Regions from separate parts of the Homo sapiens genome. Here region 2 is linked to region 1. Evidence: promoter capture Hi-C in human tissues and cell types (Jung and others, 2019). All regions are on one chromosome and are shown on one strand. Each heading gives the region's core, a stretch centred on a gene start or on the middle of the fragment in contact. The rest is flanking DNA. Distances are from core to core; before and after follow the strand shown. Region 1 holds the start of ASS1 (argininosuccinate synthase 1). Region 2 overlaps HMCN2 (hemicentin 2).

Region 1 (4,959 bases), core at 1,013-3,512:
CTCAGATCCCAGTGCCTTTGTTTCTCCACCTGCTCAGGCCTAGGTGCTGCTTTGTTTTTAGGAATGCCACCAAGATCACTTACCTAGAAGGTGCAAAGGCTCCTGGAGGACCCCTGACCTAGGTGTGGGCAGGGGGTAAGATGAAAGTCAAAGGCCATGGTGCCCCAGTCTCAGGTGGGGGAATCCCTTTGGGCCACGCCCCACTTTGGCCCTCAGCACTGCTCTGCAGGGTAAGGGCCAGGGCAGGGTTGAAGGTCCCCCTGGCCGATGGAGGGGTCCAGGCAGAATGGGGCTCATTCAGAAGCTGGCCAGTCCTCCCTCACCTTGGTCTCTGCCTCTGGGCAACCACTCACCCTGCTGTTGGTGGCAGGACGGTGGGGGTGGGGGGCGGGGTGCTGCTGGCAGTTTGGGCCCCTGTTTTCTTCTCAGGAGCGCTGTGACCTCACTGTCCCTCATGTCACTGGTGCATGTGAGTTAGGAAGGGTCTGTCCCCTAGGCTGGAACCATTTCTGCGGCAAGGAGTAAAGGTCCCAGCAGCCTGTGACCCTGGGACTGTGACCTCAGTTCAGCTCAGGCTGGAGCTAAAGCAGAGGGTTTGAGCCAGAGCTTCAGACACTGGATTCTAGCTCCGCTCTGCCACTCACATGCTGTGTGGCCTTGGGAAAGATACACCGTCATTCTGTGCAGCAGGTTTCTGCCCATACCATTGAGATAACAATCACAGGTACTTCATACAGGGTAGTCGTGAAGGTGAAAACAGAATGCTTGCTCTTTCCAGGGCGACCCTACCAATGAGAAAACAGGCTGCAGTGGGGAGTGACCGCCCCAAGGACACACAACTGCTGCAAGGGTGTCATTGTGTAGGTGTTCCTCACTTGCCTCCTGCTAGTGTGGGAGGCCCAGAGACTCCACGAGACCCCCAGCTGCTCCTGTGAGAGGGCTGAGGGGGGCCAGCTGTGATACCGCCTCCCATCTAGAAGGGGCCTCAAGCCACCCATGTACACCCAGCCCCACGTGGCTCACCAGGGGCCCCTTTGCCATCAAGGGCCACATCCCAGGTTTAAGTGTCAGAGAACTAAGGGGCTTAAGAGAGAATCGAGCTGTGGCTTTGTTTGTGAATTGGTTTGATCCTTTTTTCCTTCTAGAAGGACTCACAGCTACTGTTGCTTGCCATGGGCTTGAGGGGGTGGTGGGGGCTGACTGGCAGAGGGGCTGAGAGTGGATGGTGATTAAAAGGAGCACTGACTCCAGGGTAGCGGCTGGGCAAGGCTTGGGGCTCCCACCTCCCCCAGGTTCAGAGCCGGCTGAGGACCGGGAGTCCTCCCTTCTGGGGTCAGTGCTCACTATGGAGCAACTGCCTTGGATGGGGTCCCAGGACTTGCTCTTTTACTGGGGCTGTGGTTGCAGTGATCAGGGCTTTGGAGCCGGCAGACCAAGCTGGGAAACTCCTGAGGTAGAGAAGCTGTTGAAGGCGGGCCTGGGGTCACAACTCCCAGCTGCTTTTTACAAGCAAGAGACTTCTCTCTGAACCTCAACCTTCCCTCCTGTCTAGTGGGTTCGCAGCCAGACAGTCTTTTACTCACTGCTTACTGGGTGCCCTCTGGAGTCTGGGCAGGTGCCAGGCTCTGAGAAGACAGGCCAGCAATCAGCCCTGGCCTAAGGGATGAAAGCCGGGCCTTCCCGCGCCGGCTCACCTCGGTTTTCTCATCCTTACTCGGCTACCAGAGGCTATGGTTGGGGAGGGAGGGGGCTCTGGGGGCTGCAGAAGGCCCAGGCTGCCGGCACCGGATAGAAGTGAGCACGAAGCTCCCTGCGCCAGTGGAACTTTTATCCCGGCTCCCACCGCGAAGCGTTTAAATTGCTTCCCCAGGGCCAGGAGGCAAGTCTCTCGAAGGACGGCTGCGGCCACCCTCCGCCCCTGAGTTACATGGGTCGCAGCCACTGCCGCCCTCCTTGGCGCCTCCAGCCCGCGGGCCAGGGCCAGGAACCGCGAGCCGCCTGCGCCCCCGCCGGCGCGCCCCTGGGAGGGTGAGCCGGCGCCGGGCCCAGGCCCGGACCTGGTGGGAGGCGGGGGGAGGTGGGGACGAGGCCTGGGGAGGCGGGCCCCGCCCATCTGCAGGTGGCTGTGAACGCTGAGCGGCTCCAGGCGGGGGCCGGGCCCGGGGGCGGGGTCTGTGGCGCGCGTCCCCGCCACGTGTCCCCGGTCACCGGCCCTGCCCCCGGGCCCTGTGCTTATAACCTGGGATGGGCACCCCTGCCAGTCCTGCTCTGCCGCCTGCCACCGCTGCCCGAGCCCGGTAAGGAGCCCTCGGCCCCTCTCGCTGCCCACTCCCTAGCCGAGAGCACCCGCTTCCCGGGCCCAGAGGAGGAGGCGTAGAAGACGCCCGCCCCGGGGCCCGCGGAGGCAGAGGGCGGACCCCGATCGCCACTCGCCGGGGACTGGGACCGAGGCAGGAGGGAAGGGGCTCCCGATGCTCAAACGCCTGGCACCGGATTCCAGGTTTCTGGAGCGTGGGGGACGCGGCGGGGGCGCGAGTCCCCGGGGGCGCGAGTCCCCGGGTCCGAAGAGCGGCTCGGGTTATTTGTTCCCTGCGCAGCCGGGTCCTTTCTGGACTCCTTGTCGGATCCGGCTTCCTCTGTGTCGTGAAGCCCCCACATGGAGACCTGGGGAGTCCGGAGCGTGTGGGGGGGCTCCCGATTCTCTCTCCCTCTCTCGGACTCGCCGTCTGTCTCCACCTCTATTTCTCTGCGTAAAACCAGGAGTCCAGCCCCTCTGGGGCTTGGACGTATCGCTTTCCCCGCAGCCTCAGTTTACCCTGGACAGATGGGCATGGTGGCCCTGGCTCCCTTCCCTGCAGGGGGCGGCAGCCACCTGGCCCTCCCCGGTGGGGCTGGCGGCCTCGCGGCGGGGTTTCCTGCTGGCCTGGGCTGGGCTCTGTGGGAGGGGCAGTGCCAGGAATATTTTCTATTCGGGCTGCTGTTGCCTTTGGCCCCTGGGCGGCTGCGCCCTCCAGGGAGGCAGGGTCATTGTGAAAGAGAGGAAACTCCTCTCCCAGGCGGCCAGGGCTGTTCCTGAGGAGGGCTGGCCTGGCCTCAGTATTCTTCTCTGAGAAGTGGAGAGTCCACTCCCGAGCAGCCGAGTCAGGCTGCAGGTCTCAGGGCAGGAACAGACCTGTTCTCTCCCCAGGGGTAGATCAAGACCTAGGGGACTTGGGCTTTGATCCTCCCGCTCCCAGCAAGCACAAACCCAGTGATGGGGAGAGCTGGTGAGGCCTTGGCTCAGCCTCCAGATTCCCAAGCTTCCTTTTCATTTTCTTTTCTTTCTAAAAATTTATCAGAGATGTGGACTCGTCATGTTGCCCAGGCTGGCCTCGAGCTCCTGGGCTCAAGCGACCCTCCTCCCTCGGGCCTCCTAAACTGCTAGGATTACAGGCTCGAGCCACCCAAAGTGCCTGGCCCCCAAGCTTCAGTCTGTTAGAGCTGGCTGGGGCTGAGGGCTCAGGAAACATTTGCAGATACTGTGCGGCTGCTAAGGGCTCTGTAGACTGTTGGGTGCTGGGCCTGGGTCCAATTGCACAATAACTGTGCCTGGGGTTAGGTTCTGATGAGAGGGAGGGAGAAGCAGCCACACGGACTGGGAAGCTTGGCTAGGAGCAGGAACTGGAGGAGTCTCCATTCCAAACTCCCTCTCCCTCCCAGACCCCTTAGGCCCAAGGCCTAGGGCGGGGAAGTTTGGGGGTGGGGGCGGGACCCTGTCCTGGCGGGGCCATCTGTGCACCATGCTGAGAAGTAATTCTGGTTCTGCTCTGTGGGGGTGGATCAAGTGAATGAATAGTGACTCCTGCCTGCTGAGCGCCTGGCCGGTGCGGGGGCAGACACGTCGTGAGAGGGAAGGGGAGGCCCCACTCTCAGCACAGTCTCCATTCCTGAGTGCTTGGGAAGCAGGCCCAGGGCCGCAGGAGCCTTGGGGTGGAGCCAGGCCCAAAACAGCCTGCTGCACAAGCGCTTCCCCCTCCCAACCCGGGCCCATCTCATCTTTGGCCTGCTGGGAGGCCAGCCAGGTCAACCAGATGCCTCATCTGAGCACTGACTACACAGTCCCTGAAGTCAGTGGCTTGCCTGTGGGCACCAGGCACCCATGTGGAAAGAGGTAACTTCGCTGGAATTCAGAGTCTAAGGCTCTGATTTCTGATGTAGCTTTGGGCAAAGTTGATCTTCCAGGGCGTGGCTCCCTCCCCAGACTTGGGGTCGACCAGGCACCCATAGGCACTTTGATATGAGTGGAACGAATGAATGAATGTGCCCTTCGTCCATCACCAAAGACAAACCGAGCTCAGCTGAGTTAGAATGTCAGCGAGGGGTTGCAGGGGAATCTTCCACGGGGCAGTAGGCCTGAGCTATAGCACACAGGCTCTCCAGAGAAATAGTGGGCAGGTTGGCCATGACTCACTGGGGGGCTGGTTTTCTGGAAGGTGTGTAGAGTGAAGGGGAGATCTGAGGTCTCCTAGGAGCCAGGGAGTGGAAGGCCTAGTGCAGGGAAGAGCAAGTGGCCTGCAGTCAGGCTGGGTTTGAAGCCGCTAGCTTGTGACCTCGGCTGGCCGCTTAGCCTCTGCCTCCTCCTTTGTAAATAGGTGGTAATGGCAGTCTCCACCTTGAGAGGATGCACCTGTGACTGTGAACATAGTAGCCGCTCTTGTTGTCATTCCAGCTCTGACGTTTTCAAGTAGCACGAGTTTTCCTTAGTGTCAAGTGAGCGCCCAGGCTGGCCTGTTTGCTGGAAGCTGGACAGATGGCTGTGGCTGGGGCCACAGAGAATGCCATCCCAATGAAAGCCAGGTGGCTCTGGTACCTTGACGCGAGGCCACCTTCCCTCCTCCCAGGTGTCTCTTCCGGGGAAGGAGGGCTGGAGGGCAGTGGGCATTTGCCAGGGAGCTGGAGAAACCTGCCGTGGCCCTTTCT
Region 2 (4,650 bases), core at 1,929-4,428, 62 kb before region 1:
GCTCATGACCCCAAACGCTGACGAAGCTCTAGCTGGGCATTGAAGGGCACACTGTGGTGGCTGAACTCATGTCTTTTGTGTCTGGGTTTTTTTTCTATTTTTTTCTATTTTTATTTTTTGGGACAGAGTTTCGCTCTTGTTGCCCAGGCTGGAGTGCAATGGTGCAACCTTGGCTCACTGCAACCTCCACCTCCTGGGTTCAAGTGATTCTCCTGCCTCAGCCTCCCAAGTAGCTGGGATTACAGGCATGCGCCACCACGCCTGGCTACTTTTTGTATTTTTAGTACAGATGGGGTTTTTCCATGTTGGCCAGCCTGGTCTCAAACTCCCGACCTCAGGTGATCCACCGTCTCGGATCGGCCTCCCAACATGCTGGGATTATAGGCGTGAGCCACCACGCTCAGCCAGGTTTTGTTTTTTCTTTCACCACCTTAAGAGGTATTTGTTTATTTAAGGTAATTTAATTTTTTTAAGTAAACCTTTTATTTTAGAATAATTTTTTGTAGGTGATTTTGACTTAAAAGGCTCCAGGGGTGGGGCTTAGAAATGCCCGGCCCACCTGGCTCATGAGGGAAGCGTGGGTGGTCTCTCTGTTTGAGATTCGAACTGTGTCCTGCCAGAGATGGGCCGGCAATGGGGCTGGTTTTGGGGAGAAGTGGTCAGTTGCACAGGTCTCCAATGAGCAGAATCAGACCAGGATTTCTACTTTGGTGCTTGCAAGAAAAGGAGGTGGCTGGGCGCCGTGGCTCACACCTGTAATCCCAGCACTTTGGGAGGCTGAGGTGGGAGGATCGCTTGAGCCCAGGTATTCAAGACCAGCCTGGGCAACATCGTGAGACCCCGTCTGTACAAAATATTTTAAAACTAGCTGGGCGTGGTGGCATGTACCTGTGGTCCCAGCTACTCAAGAGGCTGAAGAAGGAGAATCCCTTAAGCCCAGGAGGTCAAGGCTTCAGTGAGCCGTGATCACACCACTGCACTCCAGCCTGAGTGACAGATCAAGACTATCTCAAAAAAAGAAAAAAAAAAAAAAAAGAAGGAGGCCTCTTGCAGATCCAGGAGTGCAACTCTTACTGAACACTGTTAGTTCCTATTAGAAACCTCTGGACAGACCCCTTAACCTGGCCACTGACCACTGATCCTGACCCCAAGTCCTGGGTGCACAGTAGGCTCTGACCTGCTGATCCCGATCAGACTCTAACCATCAGCTAATCCCAACCAATAGCTGAACCCAGACCACAGCCACCAACTGCCCCCCAGTCCTGCCCACTTACCTCCAACCCTACCACTCACCTCTCACCCTGACAACTGACCTCTAACCTCTGTTCTCTAATCCTGAGAAAATAGGCGTCATGGTCACGGCTGACCTGAATTCTTACCCTGACCTTACACTGACCTCAAACATCAACTGACCCCTACAATGCCACTGCTGCCTCAATCCTGGCCACTGGGCTCTGCAGGCTCTTAACCTGGTCAAGCTACCCACAGCCCGGGCCGGCCAGCCCCAGCCTAGAATTCTGAGCACACAGTAACCCTAACCAGGCCCCCACTGGAGACCAACGCCAGCCCCCATAGATGCCAGGCTCTGGCCTTGGATGGCTCTTTTTTTTTTTCTGAGATAGAGTCTCACTCTGTTGCCCAGGCTACAGTGCAGTGGCAGTCTTGGCTCACTGCAACCTCTGCCTCCTGGGTTTAAGTGATTCTCCTACCTCAGCCTTCTGAGTAGCTAGGATTGCAGGTGTGCACCACCACACCCGGGGAATTTTTGTATTTTTAGTAGAGATGGGGTTTCGCCGTGTTGGCCAGGTTGGTCTTGAACTACTGACCTCAGGTGATCCACCTGCCTTGGCCTCCCAAAGTGCTGGGATTGTAGGATTGTAGGCGAGAGCCACTGTGCCTGGCCCCTGGCTGGCTTTTGATCACAGAGGGTCCCAGGCGATGCCTCCCCAGCCCCTACCCCTACTTCTACCCCCGCCAACCACCACAGCCCCAGGAGTTGCCTCCCTTGCCTCCTGAGTCTCTGCTTGGACTCTGCCCTTACCAAGGAGCTGGGCTCAGCACAACAGCAGAGCTGAGCCAGCAACCACTGCTGTCACCCCCAGCACTGCCATGAAGGCTCAGGTTTGCCATCTGTAAGATGGGAGTGACAACAGCGTGTGCCCCACAGAGGCACTGTGGGACAGGCCGAGAATGTGCAGCCCAGGGCCTGGCACGCAGCGAGTGGTGGCTGTACCCTGACTTGACTCCACTCCACCCGTGAGCTGGGCAGGACAGGCCGATTCTCCTCATTTCACAGATGAGGCAGGGACAGTCACATGTCCCAGGTCCACTCCAGAGGAGGGGGCAGCGTCTTTGCTCTTGGGGGTGACTCTCGTGCCTGAGCCCAGGCCTCTGTCCCGTGTCCCTGCAGGAGGCCGGGTCCTGCAGATCCCCCTGGTGCGGGCAGAGAACGCCGGGAGGTACTCGTGCAAGGCCTCCAACGAGGTGGGCGAGGACTGGCTGCACTACGAGCTGCTGGTGCTGAGTGAGTGGCGGGGCCTGCAGGTGGGGATTCCCGGGACTGCAAGCGCCGTAAGGGCCTCCCTCAGAAGGGGCCGAGGCAAAGTGCACACAGTCTTGCTGTACTCAGAGGTTGAAATTGGAGTTACATGCTCGGCCTCAAAGAATCATGCAGGACTGGGCGCAGGTTCCAAGTCAGAAGCTTCCTAGCTGTGTGACATTGAGCAAATCACAACCCTTTCTGTGCCCCCGATTCCTTAGCTGCATCAGGGATTGGGAGGGCTTGGAGAGAAGGGCATGAGGATCCCGACCAGCACCTGACACCAAGTGCCACTCTCGCCTCCACGGCCACCCCCGCCCCCAGGGACCTGTGCCAGCCCCTCAGCCCCCTCTCCCCCACCCCCAGCCCCACCTGTGATCCTGGGTGACACAGAGGAGCTGGTGGAAGAGGTGACAGTCAATGCCAGCAGCACCGTCAGCCTGCAGTGCCCGGCCCTGGGAAACCCCGTGCCCACCATCTCATGGCTCCAGAATGGGCTGCCTTTCTCCCCGAGCCCACGGCTGCAGGTCCTGGAGGACGGGCAAGTCTTGCAGGTCAGGGCAGCCCCCTGCACGGGCTAGGGGCAGTGGCTGCTGAGGCCCAGCACCACTTGTCTGGGAGCCAGGGAGGGGTCATTATCTGCAAATGAGGCTCTTTGCTGGGAACCATGCTGGAGCCCAGCCAAGAATCACCTGTGAGGAGGCATGCTGGGCCAGCACAGGCCTGTGCACGGCATCCAGAGCTTCAGGAGACACCTAGCAAAGGATGCACATGGGTGCGGGACCCAGAGCCCAGCACCGCACACAGCAGCCTTCCGCGGGATCACCAGCTGGCGCGTGCAGAGCCGTGCCCAGCACTCAGACATCAGGCAGCCCCCTGAGTCACCCCATGTGCAGACACAGAGCTGCGGGGACCCTGGGAGCCCAACACACACAGCACGGCCCTCCACAGGGGTGGGGGAGGCTCTTGTCACATCTGGTTTGCTACAGAGAACCACCCAACACCAACCTCACACGCCCGCTCCTGAGCGCCACACAAGGCCCTGGATGGAGGAGGTTCCAGGTCTCCATGAGCTGCCTGGTGCCTGCTTCCCTGGCATGGGATGGGAGGGATTCCTCGCAGTCATTCCTGGGGGTGGTGGTGTCCAAGGGGTCTCAGGTATCTCCCAGGCATGGCTCCCTGCACCCACAGGTTTCCACGGCAGAGGTGGCCGACGCCGCCAGCTACATGTGTGTGGCCGAGAACCAGGCGGGCTCCGCTGAGAAGCTCTTCACCCTCAGGGTTCAAGGTGAGCTGGGCTGAGCAGGCAGCCCCTGTGGGTTCCTTTTCCCTTCCCAGGGGGCACTGCCTTGGGGCTTCCAGTATCCTGGGCTCTGGGTCCTGCAATCAGAGTTCAGGGATCCCAGCTGGCCCCAGCCACATCCCGAGACAGAGAGCATTTGGGGGGCCCTGATCACTACTGGGCCAACCCCAGGTGGTTTTAAGCAACTTTGGAGATGGCCAGGCATTACCACCACCATTACTGAGCACTTACTGTGTACCTGACACGAGGCTGAGCACTTTCCCTGGGCTGACTCCTTCCAGCAGAGCTAGGTTAGCCCACCCAGCTTTGCAGCTGTGGGAGGAGACTCAGGGAGGTCGCCCTCAGAGAGGAGTGGGATTGGGGGGGTCTCACTGTCCCGGAGCCTGCACTCCTAACCTCTGCAACTCATGACGTACACCGCACTGCAGTGGCTGTGAGTTCTGTCTCCAGATGGTCTTGGAGATGGAGGAAGATAGTGTTGAGCCCTCAAGGTCATGGGCTCAAACCTGAATTGATATCTTAGCTCTGCCACTGACCAGCTGTGTGGCCTTGGAACAGTGACTCTCCCTCTCTGATCCCCTACCCAGTGTCCTTCTGTGTAAGAGAGTCATGGCAAATGGAGGTTTCTGAATTATTTGAAGTTGTGCCGAGGTGAAGCCCCAGGAGCTGGGTGAGGCTCAGGGTTTCTCTTGGGCTCTGTGCTCCCCTGCTGGTGTGATTCTCATGCCTTTCTCTACCGTGGTGGCTGTGGGGATAGTCCCGCCACGAATCGCAGGCCTGGACTTGGAGCAGGTCACTGCCATCCTCA

What was found. Contacts are between HindIII fragments. The study calls those that stand out against the background at their distance.
Region 2: a fragment that was not itself captured here is called in contact with the fragment with the promoter of ASS1 in region 1 in 1 of the 25 tissues and cell types used here (bladder).

Annotation. Positions count from the first base shown.
Region 1 is chr9:130,442,699-130,447,657 of GRCh38, forward strand. It overlaps ASS1 (argininosuccinate synthase 1), which reads left to right and starts at 2,263. Exons shown (of 15, transcript NM_054012.4): 1 at 2,263-2,297. RefSeq lists a silencer at 2,066-2,185 and enhancers at 3,066-3,733, 4,403-4,959. The HindIII fragment of the contact is 13,908 bases long and covers 1-4,959 here.
Region 2 is chr9:130,379,774-130,384,423 of GRCh38, forward strand. HMCN2 (hemicentin 2) reads left to right here. Exons shown (of 98, transcript NM_001291815.2): 55 at 2,411-2,524; 56 at 2,906-3,093; 57 at 3,731-3,827; 58 at 4,600-4,650. Among named protein-coding and RNA genes, the nearest start is that of ASS1, 63 kb to the right of the region's middle. RefSeq lists an enhancer at 1,845-2,760. The HindIII fragment of the contact is 4,474 bases long and covers 942-4,650 here.